Regions from separate parts of the Homo sapiens genome. Here region 1 is linked to region 2. The links are contacts of gene promoters, found by promoter capture Hi-C in human tissues and cell types (Jung and others, 2019). All regions are on one chromosome and are shown on one strand. Each heading gives the region's core, a stretch centred on a gene start or on the middle of the fragment in contact. The rest is flanking DNA. Distances are from core to core; before and after follow the strand shown.

Region 1 (5,181 bases), core at 1,830-4,329, 57 kb before region 2:
GGCTTCATCCCTGGGATGCAAGGATGGTTCAGTATATGCAAATCAATAAATATAATCCAGCATATAAACAGAACCAAAGACAAAAACCACATGATTATCTCAATAGATGCAGAAAAGGCCTTTGACAAAATTCAACAACCTTCATGCTAAAAACTCTCAATAAATTAGGTATTGATGGGACGTATCTCAAAATAATAAGAGCTATCTATGACAAACCCACAGCCAGTATCATACTGAATGGGCAAAAACTGGAAGCATTCCCTTTGAAAACTGGCACAAGACAGGGATGCCCTCTCTCACCACTCCTATTCAACATAGTGTTGGAAGTTCTGGCCAGGGCAATTAGGCAGGAGAAGGAAATAAAGGGTATTCAATTAGGAAAAGAGGAAGTCAAATTGTCCCTGTTTGCAGACGACATGATTGTATATCTAGAAAACCCCACTGTCTCAGCCCAAAATCTCCTTAAGCTGATAAGCAACTTCAGCAAAGTCTCAGGATACAAAATCAATGTGCAAAAATCACAAGCATTCTTATACACCAATAATAGACAAACAGAGAGCCAAATCATGAGTGAACTCCCATTCACAATTGCTTCAAAGAGAATAAAATACTTAGGAATCCAACTTACAAGGGACGTGAAGGACCTCTTCAAGGAGAACTACAAACCACTGCTCAAGGAAATAAAAGAGGATACAAACAAATGGAAGAACATTCCATGCTCATGGGTAGGAAGAATCAATATTGTGAAAATGGCCATACTGCCCAAGGTAATGTATAGATTCAATGCCATCCCCATCAAGCTACCAGTGACTTTCTGCACAGAATTGGAAAAAACTACTTTAAAGTTCATATGGAACCAAAAAAGAGCCCGCATCACCAAGTCAATCCTAAGCCAAAAGAACAAAGCTGGAGGCATCACGCTACCTGACTTCAAACTATACTACAAGGCTACAGTAACCAAAACAGCATGGTACTGGTACCAAAACAGAGATATAGATCAATGGAACAGAACAGAGCCCTCAGAAATAACGCCGCATATGTACAACTATCTGATCTTTGACAAACCTGAGAAAAACAAGCAATGGGGAAAGGATTCCCTATTTAATAAATGGTGCTGGGAAAACTGGCTAGCCATATGTAGAAAGCTGAAACTGGATCCCTTCCTTACACATTATACAAAAATTAATTCAAGTTGGATTAAAGACTTAAACGTTAGACCTAAACCCATAAAAACCCTAGAAGAAAACCTAGGCATTACCATTCAGGACATAGGCATGGGCAAGGATTTCATGTCTAAAACACCAAAAGCAATGGCAACAAAAGCCAACATTGACAAATGGGATCTAATTAAACTAAAGAGCTTCTGCACAGCAAAAGAAACTACCATCAGAGTGAAAAGGCAACTTACAAAATGGGAGAAAATTTTCGCAACCTACTCATCTGACAAAGGGCTAATATCCAGAATCTACAATGAACTCAAACAGATTTACAAGAAAAAAACAAACAACCCCATCAAAAAGTGGGCAAAGGATATGAACAGACACTTCTCAAAAGAAGACATTTATGCAGCCAAAAGACACATGAAAAAATGCTCATCATCACTGGCCATCAGAGAAATGCAAATCAAAACCACAATGAGATACCATCTCACACCAGTTAGAATGGCAATCATTAAAAAGTCAGGAAATAACAGGTGCTGGAGAGGATGTGGAGAAATAGGAACACTTTTACACTGTTGGTGGGACTGTAAACTAGTTCAACCATTGTGGAAGTCAGTGTGGCGATTCCTCAGGGATCTAGAACTAGAAATACCATTTGACCCAGCCATCCCATTACTGGGTATATACCCAAAGGACCATAAATCATGCTGCTATAAAGACACATGCACACGTATGTTTACTGCGGCACTATTCACAATAGCAAAGACTTGGAACCAATCCAAATGTCCAACAATGACAGACTGGATTAAGAAAATGTGGTACATATATACCATGGAATACTATGCAGCCATAAAAAATGATGAGTTCATGTCCTTTGTAGGGACACGGATGAAATTGGAAGTCATCATTCTCAGTAAACTATCGCAAGGACAAAAAACCAAACACCGCATGTTCTCACTCATAGGTGGGAATTGAACAATGAGAACACATGGACACAGGAAGGGGAACATCACACTCTGGGGACTGCTGTGGGGTGGGGGGGGGGGAGGGATAGCATTAGGAGATATACCTAATGCTAAATGATGAGTTAATGGGTGCAACACACCAGCATGGCACATGTATACATATGTAACTAACCTGCACATTGTGCACATGTACCCTAAAACTTAAAGTATAATAATAATAATAATAATAATAAAAAGCACTTACCACTTCAGAAATTCCAGGGGTTTTAGCGGCTATGTACCAGGAAACTGGAATGAAGATGAAATATATATTTTATAGTATCATACCATCCACCAAGCTTTTGATTTCTCATTGAATTTTTTAGTTCTAATATTTATTTTCATTTAGTTGTTCTTGATATCTTCTATTTTTTGCTGATATATATTTTTTTCATTTATTTCAAGCATACCTAATTGTTCACTGAAGCATTTTTATCAAGGCTACTTTAAAATCTTTGTCAGATGATTCTAACATTTCTGTCATCTCAGTGTTAGCATCTATCCATCATCTTTCTTCATTCATTTGAACTCTTCCTGGTTTTGGTATGAGGAGTGATTTTCAATTCAAACACAGACATTCTTGTAATAAGACTCTGCACCTTATTTAAACTTTATATTTTAGCTGGCTTTGACACTGCCCAGGTAGGGGACAGGGAAGGGGCACCACCTCATTATTGCCAGGTGAATATAGACATCTAGGTTCTTTACCCAGCTTTGGATGACACCTGAGTTGCAAGGAGCTTCTTCTTATTGTTGGGTGGGGACTAGAGTTCCAGCTCCCGACATGGTCTCTATGGACACTGGCCTGTTCCCTGCTTGGCCTTCTCTCACACCATCCCCAGCCTTCGTCACAATAATTCCTCTGCCCCTCTAAAATCTTAAGTCCATTGACTTAAGCACACCTCCTTCATGCCTTCACTTATCTTCTGCCCAGCTTGGATTCTCTGTGCCATTCAGATTCTTTGTACTGCTCTCCCTCCACCATACTCATGTGGGAAAACCCAGCTCTATGCAAAACTCCAGATAATTCTACTTATTTGTGACACTTGAGAAGCTTAATATGGCTCTGGAGAATTGCACATGGTATTTGTTGGTGGTCCTAAACTCAATGGTTACACTTGTTACAAGATAGACTAAGGCACATTAAAATTTTAAAGCATACATGTGAGCAAACTGATCCATGAATCAGGCAGCTCCAAATGGGAAGTAATTCAGGGCTCTATTGCAGGGCACAAAGGGAGGGTGTTTATAGGGTGAATGTGGAAGCTGAGCAAAGAAATTACTTGATTGGTAAAGGTTTGAACAATTGCCTTATTTGCACTGTTCTGGTGGGAAGTTCAAGACAATATACTAAAGCCCAGTTGGCTGCCTGTGACTGGCTGAGCTTATATTTCATTTTATTTTAAATTCTGAGTTAGGCTTCAGTTTGCTTATGTGGGAACCCTGAGTGTTAGAGCCACCTCAGTCTAATGGCCTCCTATTTAATTATGTTAGCACACTTTAACTTCCTGACTGCAAAATATTCATGTGGGCCGTTCTCACTCTCTGACAACCCCACTACATTTCTACACTTGGAGATAACTGTTTCACTCCTTCCCCTGTTTCTCTAAACTAGTACCTCTCCTTCTCCCCTCTTATTTCACTGAGATTTATAAGTGAGAAAAGCCAGAAGAGAATGTCCTTATTCCCCCTAACCAGTTAACCAACCAGTACTCTTACAACTCTGCCCATACTTTCTGCATTCCTTCCAATGACCATGGAAAAATTGTCCAAGGTCCTAGCGTGGGTCACCTTTTCCACTGTGGACTTGACACCATTCCCTCTCCCTTACTCCAGGATATTACTCCCTCAGTTATTCTTCCTCTCTCTTGCATCATCAATTTCTTTCTTTCTCTGTCTTTTTTTTCTTTCTTTCATTCTTTTCTTTCTTTCTTTCTCTCTCTCTCTTTTCTTTCTCTTTCTTCTTTTCATTTCTTTCTTAAGAGTTGTAATAGGGAAACAAAGTCAGGCACAAATACATGGTAATATTTCCCATGTGAAAATAAAATTTCTTGGGCCATTTGTCTCCCTCCACCTCTTCATTACTTGTCTCCTTTTTACAGCAAAATTTCTCAAAAATAGTTGTCTGTATCTGCAGCTTTTACTTCTTTATTCTCTGTCTGTATATCTGTACCTCTTCTCTTGGTCTCTCTTTTTCTTCCTTATTGTGGAAAATCCTTATGTATCTCTAAAAGATAAGGACTCTTTTAAAACCTAATCACAATACCATTTAATACCTGAAAAAGCCATAATAATCCTCTATTAATATAATTTTTCAAATTTCATGTTTCCAGATTCACTCTTTTTTTTTTTTTTTTTTGGAGACAGTCTCGTTCTGTCACCCAGGCTGGAGTGCAGTGGTGCAATCTCAGCTCATTGCAACCTCTGCCTCCCAGGTTCAAGCAATTTCTGTGCCTTAGCCTCCCAAGTAGCTGGGATTACAGGCATGTGCCACCATGCCTGGCTAATTTTTGTATTTTTAGTAGAGACGGGGTTTCACCATGTTGGCCGGGCTGGTCTCAAACTCCTGATCTCAGGTGATCTGCCCACCTCGGCTCCCAAAGTGCTGGGATTACAGGTATGAGCCACCCCACCCAGCCAGCCTTTTCCAGATTCAATTTTGTTTTACATTTGTTTTTTTTTTTCAACTCAGTGTCCAAACAAGGGCAACACATTGCATTTTATTGATATATATCTTAAGTTTTTAATCTATAAATTCCATCTCTCTCTTCTTTTTCTTTGTAATTCATTGTAGAACATACGGCATTGTCCTCTAAAGTTTCCCAAATTCAGTGTTGATTTTGCTAATTCAATGTGGTTGAGTTTAACATATTTTTCTGTCCCGTGTAGTTTCTATAAACTAATAGTTAAATCTAGAGGATAGATCCATTTATAGCAAAAAGATTGCATAAATATCTTTGCAGAATTCTATTGCATCACATCTGGAGAATCATAATGTTGTGTTGGCTCTCCTTTTG
Region 2 (4,831 bases), core at 854-3,353:
CTGGTAAAAGCTAGACTCAAGCCCAGGCTGCCTGGTGCCAGAGCCTGTCTTCTTGTCCATGCCTTCATGTTGCAGTTCCACAGGGGAGAACTACTCAGATGCAGAGAGTGTGTCAAGGGCTTTTCCCCCGTCTCCATTCTTTTCCGAAAAGTGGCTGCTCCTTCTCTTTAGTAACAGAGGTTTTTTGGTTAGTTGTTTTGTTTGTTCGTTTCTTTGTTTTTTGGTACTTTGATGCTTTGGGTGTTTAAGGTTTAGCTTACCATGGCCAGTCAACTAGCCCTGCCTTCTCACCTCTCCAGTGACTGGCCACAGAAAGCTAAATATTAAAAACCCAAACTATCCTAGCTTGCCACACGGTCCTGTCAGGAATGTCCTGGGTGTCTCCAGAAATCTTTAGCCATGACTTTGATCAGAAATAATTTCTTCCCAGCTTCAATGAAAATACTGGAGATCCCTCATTCTCTAACAATGCCCCAAAAATGGCTCCAGTAGAAAAGTCATAGTACAAGCCGCTACCTATGACTACCTTGGTTTATCCAATGCAATATCACTATCAACCCTCCATCTAAATGCCTGGTCCAGGTGCTTTACAGGCTTGGTGTCACATAATCCTTTCAATGATCCCATGCAACAAATCTTATTAACAAATCCTGCTTCATTTTACAAATGTCAAGACCAAGCTTTGAAAGGAAAATGGTTCACCCAAGAGCTTTCTTGTGAGTGCCTGAGGTTGGACTTAATTAAGCTCAAGACTTTGGGATTCCAAAGACCCTGCATTTTACCAGGATACCAAATTGTTCCTCTGAGAATCCCAAGTGAATAAAAAGAGCCAACATCGACTATGCCCAGCACCGTGTGCTACATGCTTTTTATAAATTATTTCATCTAGTTCTAACAAACAAATGAAGAAGCAAAGAAAACACCCTGGGAGGTAGGTATTGTTGTTATCATTCCTATTTTACAAATAAGGTAGGTGTTGGGTGCTGTGGCTCATGCCTGTAATCCCAGCACTTTAGGAGGCTGAGGCGGGCAGATCACCTGAGGTCAAGAGCTCAAGACCACCCTGGCCAACATGATGAAACCCTGTCTCTATTAAAAATACAAAAATTAACTGGGTGTGGTGGCGGGCACCTATAATCCCAGCTACTTGGGAGGCTGAGGCAAGAGACTCAATTAAACCTGGGAGGCGGAGGTTGCAGTGAGCCAAGACCATGCCATTGCATTCCAGCCTGGGTGACAGCATGAGATTCTGTCTCAAAAGCAACCGAAAACCAATTAAGGGAGGTGAGGCCCAGAGCAAGAAGGTCCACAAAGATGACATGGAGGTTAAGTGGCAGACCTAAGGCTCAAACTCAGACCTTTCTGCCTCCAGACCTCCAGAGCCCAGGCTCTTATCCATTAGGCTACACTGACTCTCAGCTGTCATTTAAGGGAGACTATGGTGATGTAGGGCTGGGAAGGGGGAGCAGGTTAGCCACAGAGAACTAGTGAAAATGCACCATTGGATCTAGTTCATTCACACCCCTAGCCATGCCACCGGAATTGGAGGTGACTTCGTATACGTGGTTTGTTTTTCTTTTTTTTTTTTTTTTTGAGACAGAGTCTCTGTCTCCCAGGCTGGAGTGCAGTGGCATGATCTCGGCTCACTGCAAGCTCCGCCTCCCGTGTTCACGCCATTCTCCTGCCTCAGCCTCCCGAGTAGCTGGGACTACAGGCGCCCACCACCACACCCGGCTAATTTTTTGTATTTTTAGTAGAGACGGGGTTTCACCGTGTTAGCCAGGATGGTCTCCATCTCCTGACCTCGTGATCCGCCCGCCTCGGCCTCCCAATGTGCTGGGATTACAGGCGCGAGCCACTGCGCCCGGCCCACATGGTTTGTTTTCTAAGTGATTATCTCTCCGTGGAGGCCTGTAATTGTTTCTGTCCTATTTTACCTGAGCATCTCCTCCCCCTACTGAATTACCCAATTCCTAACAAGTTCTCTGTTCAAGGTCCCCCTTCGCTGTGGCCAGAAGCCAAGTTCTGCTGGGTGCACAATCCTGCGGATCACCTGATCAGAGAGAACTGAACCTACAAAAGAGAGCTCAACCTCCTTTTCCATACCTACCAGGGACCTAGTTCAGCTACGTCCTAAACAGTACCAGGTAAGACAGAGGTGAAGGTCAGCTTCTATCTGTGTGTGTGTGTGTGTGTGTGTGTGTGTGTGTGTGTGTGTGTGTGTGTAATCCAATTTTAAGTTCTGGCAATGCTACTTTTAAGTTGAGTGACCTTGGGCAAGTCACTTAACTTCTTGGCACTTCATTTTAGAGGCAAAATGACAATGGTGATATTGGGTGAGAGGAATAAATAGGAACGTACATGTAATATGTTTAGCACAGTGGCTGGCATGTAAATGGGGACTGGTTTAGTGTCAGGCAGCTCTGAATGTGGTGAGCCGTGGGAGACAGGCACAAAGTCAGAGATGAATGTTTGAAGGAAATCTTTTCTATCTATGCAGAAGTTGGCTCACTTTCTATAAAGTGAATGCCTTCTAAAAAAAATTATCCAAGCATAGTAATACATGCCTGTGGTCCCAGGTACTTGAAAGGCTGAGGCAGGAGGATGACTGTAGCCCAGGAGATTGAGGCTGCAGTGAGCTATGATCACACCACTGCACTCCAGTCCAGGTGACAGTTTCAAAAAAAATGGTTAACATCTAATGGGGAGGGGGTTGGCTTCAGAATTTGCTGGGAGTTAAAAGGTACCTCAACATTTATTGAGTCCTTACCGTGCACTTCATTCAGTGCCAGCAAGTAAATTATCACACTAATCCTTATGGGGAGCTGGGAAGAAGGTATTACTACTGTGCGCTTAAGTTCAGAGACATGAACAGCACCAAAGACCCAGCTGCTAGACAACAGAGACAAACATCTAGCCCTGGCTCTGTAACTCTGGGATACCCTATAACACAGTAAGTATGTTGCTTCATTAAATAGCTTTATCAGTCCCAAGTCCTGTGAAGTCAAAGCTTAGTTGCAGGAGCTGTTCAAGGCACTATGTATCTGGGAATACAGTGGGGAGCCCAGCTGCCTCTCAAAGCTACCATGTCAAATTGCTTTCAGAATGCACTTTAAGCAGTTCAGAAAATTGTTCTTTAAAATGATTTCATAGGATGTGCTTTAATGATATGCTCTAACAGGGTAGGAACTCTTTCAGTTTAATTAATCTCCAATAGTATCTAAAACTGTACATGGTACATCTATAGTAAATACTTGAGAAAGAAAAAATACATTTTTCTATAACTCAGATAATTTGTGGGCACACTGGCTTTTCTCTTTCTGACTTTCATCACTCAGTTTTCTGAATTATGACAAAGAAGGGAAGAATCTAACTTTTTGTTGAGCACTTACTATGTCCAGCACGGTGAGAAATAGACAAACTAAGCTTTGTGAAGTCAAATCTGAAGACAGATGTGGATGGAAATAGATATCGAAACAGAGACAGAGACGGAGATAGAGATAGAGACAGAGATAGTGATAGAGATAGAGACATGCATCACTTAACAACCAAGATACGTCTGAGAAATGCATTGTTAGGTGATTTTGTTATTATGGGAACTCATAGAGTGTACTTACACAAACCCACAAAGCATAGTCTTCTACACATATAGGCGATATGCTATAGCCCATTGCTTCTAGGCTACAAACCTATGTAGCTTGTTGCTGTATTAAATACTGTAGGCAGTCATGACACGATGGTAAGTACTTGTGTATTGAAACATAGAAAAGGTACAGTAGAAATATGTCATTATAATTGTATGGGCCACTCTGTATATGTGATCCATCACTGACAATGACATCATATTGTGGCACATGACTACAGTGTACATGTGTTATTGTTATAGACATTAATATTAATGTATAGATATACACAGATAGTGATATAGGTATAAATGTAAATATTGGTATATAGATACAGAAATAGATTTAGAAATGAAGCTTAACATACATACAGAGATAGAGATAGACGCAGACATAGACATATAGATATCTGATTTTCAGTCCTCAACACTTGGAGATCAGGTTCTTATATATCTAGATAGATAGATAGATAGATAGATGATAGATAGATAGAAAATAGGTAATAGGTAGATAGATAGACGATAGATACATAATAGATAGGTAATAGATAGATAAATAGATGATAGATAGATAATAGATAGGTAATAGATAGATAGATAGATAGACAGATAATCAGTGAAAAAGCTGGACATATACCAGTCCTATGGTGTCTATGTTCAGGTATTCATCCCCATTCCTTCTCTTTAGACCTTAACTCCAAAAGTTAAGGAAATTTTTTTCCTCTGGCTTAACTACTCTATAAGAGCTTCCCTATAAAGTGTGTTAACTAGCAACAGCTCTTATTTCTAAAATACTTGTCCGTGCTGAATGCTTTTTGCAGGATATCGTGCATTTATCACCATGGCTTCAGGCAATAGGTGCTGCCAATATGCCTATGTTTTTATAGGGAGGTTAAATAAATTGCCCCAAGTTATGTGGGTGGGAAATGAAAGTGCTGGAATTTGAGCCCGTGTTGTTTGATCTCTAGGGCCATGCTGTTTCAGCTACCACAGTTCTCCACAGCTGGGCACTGTGTTTGGCCCTCTCATGTGACGAAGATTAAATTAGAATCACAAACACATTTGTGAGATGATGCCAAAGTCATTTCTTCTTTATTTGATCAAGAGGAGTACATTGGTTTGCTAGGGCTGCCATGAAAATTACTAATGACTGAGTGGTTTAAACAACAGAAATTGATTTTCTCAAAGTTCTGAAGGCTGGAGGTCCAA

The links. The method cuts DNA at HindIII sites, captures the fragments that hold promoters and counts their contacts. A contact is called where the count stands out against the background at its distance.
Region 1: a contact is called between a fragment that was not itself captured here and the fragment with the promoter of ACSM1 in region 2, in 1 of the 25 tissues and cell types used here (stomach).

What each region holds. Positions count from the first base shown.
Region 1 is chr16:20,752,805-20,757,985 of GRCh38, reverse strand. It overlaps a transcript of ACSM3 not described here. Among named protein-coding and RNA genes, the nearest start is that of ACSM3, 8.6 kb to the left of the region's middle. The HindIII fragment of the contact is 3,716 bases long and covers 1,222-4,937 here.
Region 2 is chr16:20,694,952-20,699,782 of GRCh38, reverse strand. It overlaps ACSM1 (acyl-CoA synthetase medium chain family member 1), which reads left to right and starts at 2,103. Exons shown (of 14, transcript NM_001318890.3): 1 at 2,103-2,147. It also overlaps a transcript of ACSM3 not described here. The HindIII fragment of the contact is 5,047 bases long and covers 1-3,218 here.